Regions from separate parts of the Homo sapiens genome. Here regions 2, 3 and 4 are each linked to region 1. The links are contacts of gene promoters, found by promoter capture Hi-C in blood cells and fetal thymus (Javierre and others, 2016). All regions are on one chromosome and are shown on one strand. The core of a region is centred on a gene start or on the middle of the fragment in contact, and the rest is flanking DNA. Distances in the headings are between cores, read along the strand shown.

Region 1 (2,733 bases), core at 158-2,657:
TTTTTTTTTTTTTTGAGACAGAGTCTTGCTCTGTTGTCTAGGCTGGAGTGCAGTGGCATCGAACTCTTGACCTCAAGTGATCCACCCGCCTCGGCCTCCCAAAGTGCTTGGATTACAGGCATGAGCCACTGTGCCCGGCGATGTGGGACACATTATCATCTCTGTGAGAGATTTTTGGTCTCTTTTGTCACCGCCCTTCTCTCCCAGCTCCTAGAACTGGGCCTGGCTCACAGTAGGTGCTGAATGCATACTGGTTGAATTGTAAATGCTCAGGATTTGTTTAATTAAGGATGCAGGAAAGGTGATATACCGGTGTGCAGAAGTCAGGATGCATTCCCTGTCCAAATCACAGTGTTCCACTGAGGCAAGGCCCTTGGGAGTGAGGTCGGGAGAGGGGAGGGTGGTGGAGGGGGCTCAGAGACTGGGTTTGTTTTGGGGAGTCTGCACCTATTTGCTGAGTGAATGTATGTGTGTGTGCATTTGAGAGCACACCTCTGTATGATTCGGGTGTGAGTGTGTGTGAGGAAACGTGGGCAGGCGAGGAGTGTTTGGGAGCCAGGTGCAGCTGGGGTGTGAGTGTGTAAGCAAGCAGCTATGAGGCTGGGCATTGCTTCTCCTCCTCTTCTCCAGCTCCCAGCCTTTCTTCCCCGGGACTCCTGGGGCTCCAGGATGCCCCCAAGATCCCCTCCACAAGTGGATAATTTGGGCTGCAGGTTAAGGACAGCTAGAGGGACTCACAGGCCATTCCACCCGCACACCACCAGACCCCCAAATTTCTTTTTTCTTTTTTTTTTTTTTTTTTTTTGAGACAGAGTCTCACTCTGTCGCCAGGCTGCAGTGGCGCGATCTCGGCTCACTGCAACCTCCGCCTCCCAGGTTCAAGCGATTCCCCTTCCTCAGCCTCCCAAGTAGCTGAGACTACAGGCGTGCACCATCACGTCCGGCTAATTTTTTGTATTTTAGTAGAGAGGGGGTTTCACCATGTTGGCTAGGATGGTCTCGATCTCCTGACCTCGTGATCCGCCCACCTAGGCCTCCCAAAGTGCTGAGATTACAGGCGTGAGCCACTGCGCCCGGTCAAGACTCCCAAATTTCAAACTCGCCAGCACCTCCTCCACCTGGGGGAGAAGAGCATAATAACGTCATTTCCTGCCCTGAAAGCAGCCTCGAGGGCCAACAACACCTGCTGTCCGTGTCCATGCCCGGTTGGCCACCCCGTTTCTGGGGGGTGAGCGGGGCTTGGCAGGGCTGCGCGGAGGGCGCGGGGGTGGGGCCCGGGGCGGAGCGGCCCGGGGCGGAGGGCGCGGGCTCCGAGCCGTCCACCTGTGGCTCCGGCTTCCGAAGCGGCTCCGGGGCGGGGGCGGGGCCTCACTCTGCGATATAACTCGGGTCGCGCGGCTCGCGCAGGCCGCCACCGTCGTCCGCAAAGCCTGAGTCCTGTCCTTTCTCTCTCCCCGGACAGCATGAGCTTCACCACTCGCTCCACCTTCTCCACCAACTACCGGTCCCTGGGCTCTGTCCAGGCGCCCAGCTACGGCGCCCGGCCGGTCAGCAGCGCGGCCAGCGTCTATGCAGGCGCTGGGGGCTCTGGTTCCCGGATCTCCGTGTCCCGCTCCACCAGCTTCAGGGGCGGCATGGGGTCCGGGGGCCTGGCCACCGGGATAGCCGGGGGTCTGGCAGGAATGGGAGGCATCCAGAACGAGAAGGAGACCATGCAAAGCCTGAACGACCGCCTGGCCTCTTACCTGGACAGAGTGAGGAGCCTGGAGACCGAGAACCGGAGGCTGGAGAGCAAAATCCGGGAGCACTTGGAGAAGAAGGGACCCCAGGTCAGAGACTGGAGCCATTACTTCAAGATCATCGAGGACCTGAGGGCTCAGGTAAGGGGTAGGAGGGACCTCAACTCCCAGCCTTGTCTGACCCTCCAATTATACACTCCTTTGCCTCTTTCCGTCATTCCATAACCACCCAACCCCTACTCCACCGGGAGGGGGTTGGGCATACCTGGATTTCCATCCGCGCACCTAGCCACAGGGTCCCTAAGAGCAGCAGCTAGGCATGGGAGGGCTCTTTCCCAGGAGAGAGGGGGAAGGGGACAGGGTTGAGAGCTTTACAGAGGAAGTGGACAGCATGGAGGGAGGTAAGGAAAGGCCTGTAAAGAGGAGGAGACACTGGCTCTGGCGGAATGGGGACTATTGGAGGGTTAAGCGGATGTGGCTAAGGCTGAGTCATCTAGGAGTAAACAAGAGGCCTTCCTTTGGGAGGAGCCAATCCAGGGTGTAGGGGGCCCAGAGTGACCAGGTGCACTAGGGAAAAAATGCCAGGAGAGGGCCAGGAAGAGGACTTGTTAGTAGCGACTCACTTCTGGGCAGGCAGGCCAGCCAGCTAGCCAGCCTGCTGAGGCTTCCCAAGAGGGGCAGAGTGCTGGGATCTGGGAATCCAGGAAAGGAGGGAATGGGGTGGGGCTAGATGAAAAGGGATAGGTGTCCAGGGAGAGCCTCTGGCTATTCCTGGGACCAGGAAGTTTTCACTAGGATACATAACACTTTTTACACACTCACCCCACCCATCCCTGGCTTTCTATTCATGGAACAACCTCTCTCTACAATCCCTCCAGATCTTCGCAAATACTGTGGACAATGCCCGCATCGTTCTGCAGATTGACAATGCCCGTCTTGCTGCTGATGACTTTAGAGTCAAGTAAGTTTGGGGGCTAGAGAGCTGGGGGTCCAG
Region 2 (2,807 bases), core at 262-2,761, 500 kb before region 1:
GAAAGGAGTTCTAACTCATAACACAAAAACTCTGAGATGCCTAGGGATACCTAACAACAACAACAACAATAACAACACAACAAAATGCACAAGAATAACCAGAAAACATTGAAGACAAACAATGAGTAGGACTTGCTGTATAAGAAACCAACATGTAAATAACAGAGTGAATGTCACCAAGATGGCAGAATACAAGGTAACCTGTTCATATCCCCCCACAAGATATTCTGCACCCAACCACAGTCCAAAATCTCTCTGCAGGTTCAGACATCATTGCACATCCTTGAGCATCGAGGATGTTCATGGAAAAGACCTCACCAAATGGACAAAATAAGGCACCAGAGACTGACCCTAAAGTAATAGAGAAAGCAGCATGTAATATAAAGATCTAGTAATCACAGTGGTGTGATCAGACAAAGAGATCAATGACACAGAAGATAAAGTGTATGAATTCAGCATGTAATAAAAATGGCATTTCAATGGTGGAAAAAGTAGGATGTTGATCTTTATGTAGCAGAAAAGTATGAAAATGAAAATAGCAATTACCCAAATTCATACTCCTCAGAATTAATCACTATTAGTATTTTGTCCTGGCAAGATGGCGAACCAGCTGGGGCTGTTATCTTCCTCCCACAGGATGAATCCTGAGAAACTGTAGAAACACATGAAAGGCACGGATACTAGGACGTATGAATTTTTGTTGTTTATCTGTAGTTCAACTTTAACTGAGGTTTCAGTGCAGTGGTTCATGCCTATAATTCCAGCACTTTGGGAGGTTGAGGTGGAAGGATCACTTGAGCCCAGGAGTTTGAAACCAGCCTGGACAAATAGTGAGACCCTAACTCTACAAAAATTACAAAAAAGAAGAAATTATCTAGGCATGGTGGTGCATGCCTGTGGTCACAGGTACTCAAGAGGCTGAGGCAAGAGGATCACTTCAGCCTGCGAAGTCCAGTCAGCAGGGAGCCATGATTGCACTACTCTACTCTAGCTTGGGTGACAGAATGAGACTATGTCTAAAAAAAAAACACAACAAATTTAACTGGGCTTCCTCTATTTTGTCTGGACAACCCTATTCACAGGAGACTGGGATGCCTGCTCCAAGTCTCAAGCCAGCTGGCATCTAGCTGGCCTCTCAGAGAGGGTAAGCATCTGGATTTCACTTGAGGGTAGTGAGGGACCCTGCCAGTAGCCTGCTGTCCTCGAGCTTTTTACCTGAGGGGGGAGAATGACTTTGCCTGGCACACTGGGAAGTTGTCCTAACAGCTTTTGGGACTTGAACAACGTGGCAGTTCCTACGCTCTGCTTCCACCATGCCTTTGACTTCAAACTCTAGACTGCAATGATAGAAAGGGAGGGGGTCACTAATTCCCCAAAGTCTCCTCCCGCTCCAAAGCTTCTGCTAATGACCTACTCAGTGGCAAGACGTTTGCTCACCCACAGACAACCATGGGAAGAAGGCCAGACCTCAACTACAGTAGTGACGCATGGGAAAGAGTCTCTGCTGTGGCATCAAATGGGCAAAATATGACCATAACTGAAAGAGTTATTGTTGTTCTTCAGGAATTTTCTTTCACTTTGTATTCTTCTGCTCACGGATAAGACCTGATTAGCCAGTTTCTAGAATAAGCTTGTGTAAACATGGCCTAAAAGATAGAGAGTCTGTTTCCGTCTAAAAGTGAAAATTACAACCCTGATGTTGATATCTGGTCAATTTGAATGAACGTCCAACCATCAATTTTTGCTTGTCAAAATTATCATGAAAGTTTACAGTTAAAATGTGCATGGTTTTTTGTTTTGTTTTGTTTTGTTTTTGCATCCTATCATCAAATGAGGAACTCCCTTAACCTTCATCATCCAGGCTGGAGTGCAGTGTTGCAATCATAACTCACTGCCACTTCAGACACCTTGGCTCAAGTGATCCTCCTGCTTCGGCTTCCTAAGTAGCTAAAACTACAGGTGTGCACCACCATGCCCAACTAATTTTTTAGTTTTTTTGTACAGACAGGGTCTGGCTATGTTGCCCAGGCTGGTGTCACACTCCTAAGCTCAAGTGATTCCTGCCTTGGCCTCCCAAAGTGTTGGGATTACAGTCATGAGCCGCTGTGCTCAGTCCCCATGTTGATCTGAGTGTCGTCTGTCAGCGTGGACCATGTTGTCTCATGGACCATGTCATCTTTGCCAGCAGCACCTCAAAACAAACTCTCTAATTTTATAAAGAAATTTTATGAATTTATTTTATCTTTTTTTACAACTTCACTTTTTCTAAGGGTTGTTGAGGTATAATGTACAGACAGTCAAAGTCACTGTTTTTAGGTGTACAGTCATAAACATTCTAACCAGCCTTTCCCAAGATAAGTTCTTTTTTTCTTTTTTTTTTTAGATGGAGTTCTTGCTCTGTTGCCCAGGCTGGAGTGCAGTGGCATTATCTTGGCTCACTGCAACCTCCACCTCCCAGACTCAAGTGATTCTTGTGCCTCAGCCTCCTGAGTAGCTGGAATTACAGGTGCATAACACCATGCCCAGCTAATTTTTGTATTTTTAGTAAAGACGGGGTTTCTTCTTGTTGACCAGGCTGGTCTCAAACACCTGGCCTTAAGTGATCCACCTGCCTCGACCTCCCAAAGTGCTGGGATTAACAGGTGTGAGCCACCAAGTCCGGCCCCAGGATAAGTTCTTAAGTTCAGCCCATGTATCTTTGAGTTGTGTCAAAACCATTCCAAAACATATGGCACTGCATGGCTTTAAATCCATACACTGAGATTTGAGGATGCTCCTTTACTGTATCTATTAGTTTGAATGATGGA
Region 3 (2,700 bases), core at 82-2,581, 330 kb before region 1:
CTCCGGGTGAGCTTCCCCTGCTCCTCTAAGCTTAGGAAGTCTCTGCTTCCCAATACCTTCCTACCACTTTGTTCCTCAGTGATTCTCAAACCTGAGTGTACATCAGCATCACCTGGAGAGCTTGTTAAAATGCAGGGTGCTGGGCCCTGCTGCAGAGTCTCTGATTCAGTTGCTCTGGGGTGGAGCCTGAGAGTGTGCATTCTAACAAGCGTCCAGGTGACGTTGCTGCTGCTGGTTCCAGGGCCACCTTTGAGAACCACTGCTCTAGGGCACCGTGACCTCCAGCTGCCTTGCCTCATAGGCTGTGTGTGTTACGGACTGAGTCTGAGCTTTCAGGGGACACAGGAGGAACAGCTGGGTCGCATGGCAGTCTAGATGCCCCAGGCTGTCAAGGGCATCTCCTTCGCCTAGCTTCTAAGTCTCACAGGCTGTCACTCTGCTACTTCTCAACTCAGAGACCGCTCTCATTGCTTCCTGGACACCTTCCTGGGCTAGGCTGCTGGCTCCTCTCACCCCTCCAACCCTGGTCCCTTGCCTCTGATGTCCAGGCTTTGTCCAGTTCCTCCCTGGGCTATGTCTGCATCCTGGGGAGGTGTCCTGCCTTCGTCTGCTTCAGACAGGGAGCACCCCAAGGACAATGAAGGCGGGGGAAGGAAGGGGCTCTACGGCATGAGCAAGCCTTATGGGCCCAGCACCTGGGGAGCTTTCAAGTTGTTTACCTGGTGTCTGATTTTGCTGGGAGAAAATGATTTCTTGCTCTCAGGCAAATTGAACCACAAATTAGGGCAGTGGCTCCCTCCTGAGTCCTTAAAAGGGGAGCCCAAGATCAGCTTTCTCCAGAAAGACCCACCTTGTCAATGAAGGAGGCGAACTTGTTGTTCAGCACCTTGATCTGCTCCCGCTCCTGGGCACGCACTTTCTGGATTTCAGGGTCCAGCTCCACGTTCAGGGGTGCCAGGAGGCTCTTGTTGATGGTGACCTGATGGATACCCCCGGGCGGGCACAACGACGGACACACGGACCCCAAGGCCACACTGCCAAACATGCTGCCAGCAAAGCCACTGGCCCGGCCCCGGCCAAATCCATAGCCTCCTGCCCACCCACTGCCACTGGCCACATTGAAAGAGATGCTCCGGGCACCCCCCAGGCTGTAAAGGCTCCGACTGCTGAAGCCTCCACTGAGCCCTTTGCCCCCTGCTCGGTAGGAGGATGAGCTGCCCCCTGAGAGCACAGCGGAGCAGCCGCTGAAGCCCCCCTTGGCAGCAGCTCCCGACTTGTAGGTGAATTGGCGGCTCATGGTGGGGAGGCCAGAAAGTGGGGATAAGATGCTGACCCTTAGCTGAGATGCAGTTCACCAGCCTGTGATCCTGGGCTCCCACTTTATAGGACTCAAGAGGGAGCCATGGGCCTAATTTGTGGGTTCAGTTTGCCTGGAAGCAAGAAATCATTTTCTCCCAGCAAAATCAGACACCAGGTAAATGACTTGAAAACTCCCAAAGTGCTAGTCTTGCAAGTCTTGCTCATGTAATTTGAGTTTTATCTAATGAACATGTGTAATTAGCATGGGCACATTATCCATAGAAAGATCTTAGGTGGGAGGTTTGTCGCAGTCTCAATTGCTGTTCCCCAGGGAGTGGTGGGGCCTGGGATTGTAGGGGTACAGAGGGGAGACCTTTAATTGACAGTGTCATCTGTTAGAAATCTCACAACCATGCCAGCATCAGATGGGCTGCTTCAGGGACCCTGGCTGAGCTGCTTTTATGTGGTTAAGAAGAGGCTGCTGCTGCCTGGCTTCCCAGAGTTCCTGGAGACAGGTTTGATGGCTGGCCAGGGCCATAGGAGAGGAGCACACTGGGAATCCAGGACCAGCCTCTGGCTGCCAGCCCCCTGCTGTGCCCTCCCAGGCAGCTCTCCTGCTCCTCTGTGCCAGCCGGGCTGCCCTGCTCACCTTCCTTTGCACACACTGACTTCTTTTTCCCTTTACCATCCCACTACCCTGACTCTTGACCTTGAAATTATGGTCATTGCACCATTCACGATGGCTGACACTGGTGCAGCACTTTACAGTGTAACAGAGCTCCTCACACAAGAAGCTCATTTAATCCACTTAGTCTGCATGGAGGGGAATGGTGATGATCCACATTACACAAATGGGGAAACCAAGGTTCAGATAATTGAGGATGTCATTCCTTTAGCAAACATTTAGTGAGTCCTTTCTTTGTGTGAATCCCAGAGAATGAAAATGCCCCCAAAAAGCACAGGCCCCAGCCTTGAGGACTCCCTTGGCTGGTCTTCTGACTCCACATTCAGAGCTATGCCCGCCTTATTCATTCGTCCATCTATCCGTCCAACCAGCCAGCCAGCCATCTACTTGTTCATTCATTTATCCATTCGTTTAACAGACTTCTCTTGAGGGCTGACTCTCTCCCAGGTACTGTGCTAGGCTCTTGGGTCCCGAATTATGAAGACCAAACCTAGCTCACAATTTTGGAGATGGGGAGGTAGGGGAAGACATTTGAATTTCATGGATCCTTGACATTGCCAAAGTATGTGACCCAAGAGTTTCCCAAATCCCAAATCCCAAATATATCCATAGTATAGAATTTCCTCCATAAAAACACAAGTATTTCACTAGCTGGAGTACTTGAATGAACAGTTGGCCCATCCTTCTTTTCTATTTCTGTATAGAGGTTATGATAT
Region 4 (2,776 bases), core at 24-2,523, 460 kb before region 1:
TTTCAACATGTCTTTTCCTTCTTTTCCCAGCCAAAATTACAAACATAGTTATAAAATAGTATTCATCTGATAAATTTTACACAGTTTTTATTACTGATAGGACCTCAGTTAGAAGAGATGTTAAATGTTGCCCAATGATTTGATTCCCGTCTTATTTCCCATTTGTGCAAGTCTCTCCTCTAAAACATCCTGATGTTATGGTCATTCTTTGTTTTGAGGATTAATTAACATTTCCACATAACGTATAAACGTTTTAAGTCTTTTTTTTCTTAATCTAGCCAAAATATCCTTTCTTTTGTTTCCAATATTTTTTCCTCTTATCCAGACCCCAGAGTGTAATTTACCAGCCCGTGTACTCCTGGCATTTTCTTTGACGCTTCAAAGGGAAGAGTTAACCTACTCCATTCTCTGATGGCCTCATCTGTGCTTCAGGGTTATGAAAAGTTATGGTTCTCCCTAGGCAGGAGTGAGGGCCACTCCAGAGATCCCATGGGGGAGTGATGCCCATCCCTGCTGCTTGCTGGGCACCAGCAGCCATCTGCACTCTCTGCAGAGCTGGGCTGAGTCCTCTTCTCCCTCCCTCCTAGGTCTCCCTGGCAGGAAGGTGTTGCTCCTCTGGTCTGGGGACCCTGAAGTGCCCCATGGAGGGCATGGCACTGGCTCACCTTGTCGATGAAGGAGGCAAACTTGTTGTTGAGGGTCTTGATCTGTTCACGCTCCTCAGCCCGCACCCGCTGGATGGTGGGATCGATTTGCAGGTTGAGGGGAGTCAGGAGACTCTGGTTGACGGTGACCTCTTGGATGCCTCCAGGGGGGCACACAGGGAAGCCAGGGCCCCCAAAGCCACCAGCAAGGCCGGCTCCACCACCCAGACCAAAGCCAATGCCGGCTCCACCACCGAAACCAAATCCACTCCCGGCGCCACCAAAGCCATAGCTGCCTCCGGCTCTGCTGCCATAGCCGCCACTGATGGCACAGCTGCCCCCTCCAATGGAGATCCTCTTGGAGCCCCCCAGGCCATACAGACTGCGGCTGCCAAAGCCAGCTCCTCCACATGCACCACCCAGGCCACCACTGCCCCTGGAGCGGGACACGGAGACGCTGCTGAAGCCAGAGCGGCTGACCCCAGGGAGCCTGGCTGAGTTGGCACTGAAACCCCGGCGGCTGCTGCTGTGGCTCCTGATGGTGGTGGATGTGCTGGCCATGGTTCCAGGAGATGAGAGAGCTGAGGAGAGTGTGAGAGGCTGGAGGAGAGAGGGAAGAGAAGCAGGACTAGGAATCAGGCTCGGGGCAGCAGCTTATATATGGAGAGCATGGGCTGGGCCCAGTCCTGGAAGGTGAGCTTGCAGGTTGGGAAGGGCTGGGCTTTACCAACAGTGAGATCACACCCAGTTTCTAGAAAGGTATGAAATATGAAGATTGCTTTTTGGCTTCCTTTAGTCATAGAGAAATTCTCCTGCCTTCCAGCCTTGACTTGATCCTAACACAATAAGCCCGGGTATACATTCACTGAAGTCATGAGTTAGTCATGTCCTCAAACAAAGGAGACAAGGAGCTGATCTGTGATAATTGTCCCCTCCTTCTTCTTCATCAGACACTCCCTGTGTGCCCCCTTCCCACACAGGTTTTCTACTCCACTTGCACCAGCCTCACCCTCTGAGTGGGATCCTTCCTGAGGGCGTATGGGCATTTGCCCGATGGCCTGAGCAAGAAGTAGCCTGTTGTGTTTTTTCCACTGCATTTGGACCAGTTCTTCTGGAGCTCCTGGCTGTCCTCCCTTGTGTCCTGGACATAGGAACGGGGTCTGCTTTGGGGATCTAACCCTCCTTTGTCAGGCAAGAGGGACAGAGGAGTTGAGTCTTTACACTGTAGGAGCAACATTTGTTCTGTGTACTGTGTGATCACCTGCCCACATGCCGTTTACCTAAAATGAAGGGAGCAGACATTGCCCAGGGTGCTCAGAGACCTGACTTCTGCCAGGAGTTTCTTTCCATATCTGCACCTCTCTCTCCAGTGCTTGCTTTCCTATTGAGCTTAGTCTCATGTAAATCTGCCTTTCCAGTTGAAATTTATAGACACCTTCTCCCTGCTGTTTTGGAGCATTTACATAGAGCTTAATTTAAACAACGGAAAATGAGTGATATAAAAATCATTAAGGAATTCACTGGATTTTTATTCCCACAGATTTTGACATTTCTTAAGAATCAAGAGTCAGACAGTTTAATTGGGTGTGTAGGGAAAGTCAAGGGGCATATGGAAGCTGTGAATCATAAAATTGTGCCCTTACAAGTGTGATGATGTAACATGTCAATTCCACATTTTAATTTCTGATCTCAGTGCTTGAAATCTCAAATCCATATACACCTTCTGGGAGGGTGGGCAGGCTGACAAAGGTGAGTGTGCTTGGTTTACAGAGGAATGAGCTTCACTTCTCCAGTCCATGCATTAAGCACTGTGCATGAGGAGAATGGAGAGCAATCCTGGGCAATATTGTTCTGTGAGAACCTATGGATAAATGAGCAACCGCAGGAGGAAGAACAAACTCCCATGCTAAGAAGAGCCTCAGGAAAGCTCTTGTTACTATTTTAAAAGCAGTCCCATTTCTCCAACATTTGGAGGGGGGGACACAGCATCCAGGAGAACAGGGTGTTCCCTGTCTAAAGGAGGTGCTAACTCAGCGTCTGGCAAGAACGAGATACCTTCTCAAGACAACGGAAGCAGCTCCCCTCCCTCCACCCTGGTTGCACAATGGTTGACCAAGAATGTGCTTCCACCC

The links. The method cuts DNA at HindIII sites, captures the fragments that hold promoters and counts their contacts. A CHiCAGO score of 5 or more calls a contact.
Region 2: a fragment that was not itself captured here is called in contact with the fragment with the promoter of KRT18 in region 1 in 2 of 17 cell types (M2 macrophages and M0 macrophages); the score reaches 5.7 in M2 macrophages.
Region 3: the fragment with the promoter of KRT73 here is called in contact with the fragment with the promoter of KRT18 in region 1 in 7 of 17 cell types (M1 macrophages, naive CD4 T cells, M0 macrophages and 4 more); the score reaches 8.9 in M1 macrophages.
Region 4: a contact is called between the fragment with the promoter of KRT6A here and the fragment with the promoter of KRT18 in region 1, in 3 of 17 cell types (erythroblasts, M1 macrophages and M0 macrophages). The highest score is 6.9, in erythroblasts.

The regions. Positions count from the first base shown.
Region 1 is chr12:52,947,711-52,950,443 of GRCh38, forward strand. KRT18 (keratin 18) reads left to right here and starts at 1,408. Exons shown (of 7, transcript NM_000224.3): 1 at 1,408-1,880; 2 at 2,618-2,700. The coding sequence starts at 1,464. It also overlaps a transcript of KRT8 not described here. RefSeq lists silencers at 55-349, 1,107-1,226, 1,237-1,316, 1,357-1,406, 2,068-2,091 and 2 more, enhancers at 740-1,114, 803-1,396, 1,397-1,990, 1,814-2,733, 1,925-2,579 and 1 more, promoters at 996-1,075, 996-1,006, 1,084-1,166, 1,376-1,437 and a cis regulatory region at 1,084-1,166. The HindIII fragment of the contact is 10,122 bases long and covers 1-2,733 here.
Region 2 is chr12:52,443,310-52,446,116 of GRCh38, forward strand. No RefSeq gene overlaps it. Among named protein-coding and RNA genes, the nearest start is that of KRT6B, 7.4 kb to the right of the region's middle. RefSeq lists an enhancer at 1-2. The HindIII fragment of the contact is 234 bases long and covers 1,395-1,628 here.
Region 3 is chr12:52,617,228-52,619,927 of GRCh38, forward strand. It overlaps KRT73 (keratin 73), which reads right to left and starts at 1,332. Exons shown (of 9, transcript NM_175068.3): 1 at 851-1,332. The coding sequence starts at 1,297. The HindIII fragment of the contact is 4,368 bases long and covers 29-2,700 here.
Region 4 is chr12:52,491,984-52,494,759 of GRCh38, forward strand. It overlaps KRT6A (keratin 6A), which reads right to left and starts at 1,274. Exons shown (of 9, transcript NM_005554.4): 1 at 666-1,274. The coding sequence starts at 1,205. The HindIII fragment of the contact is 6,361 bases long and covers 1-2,776 here.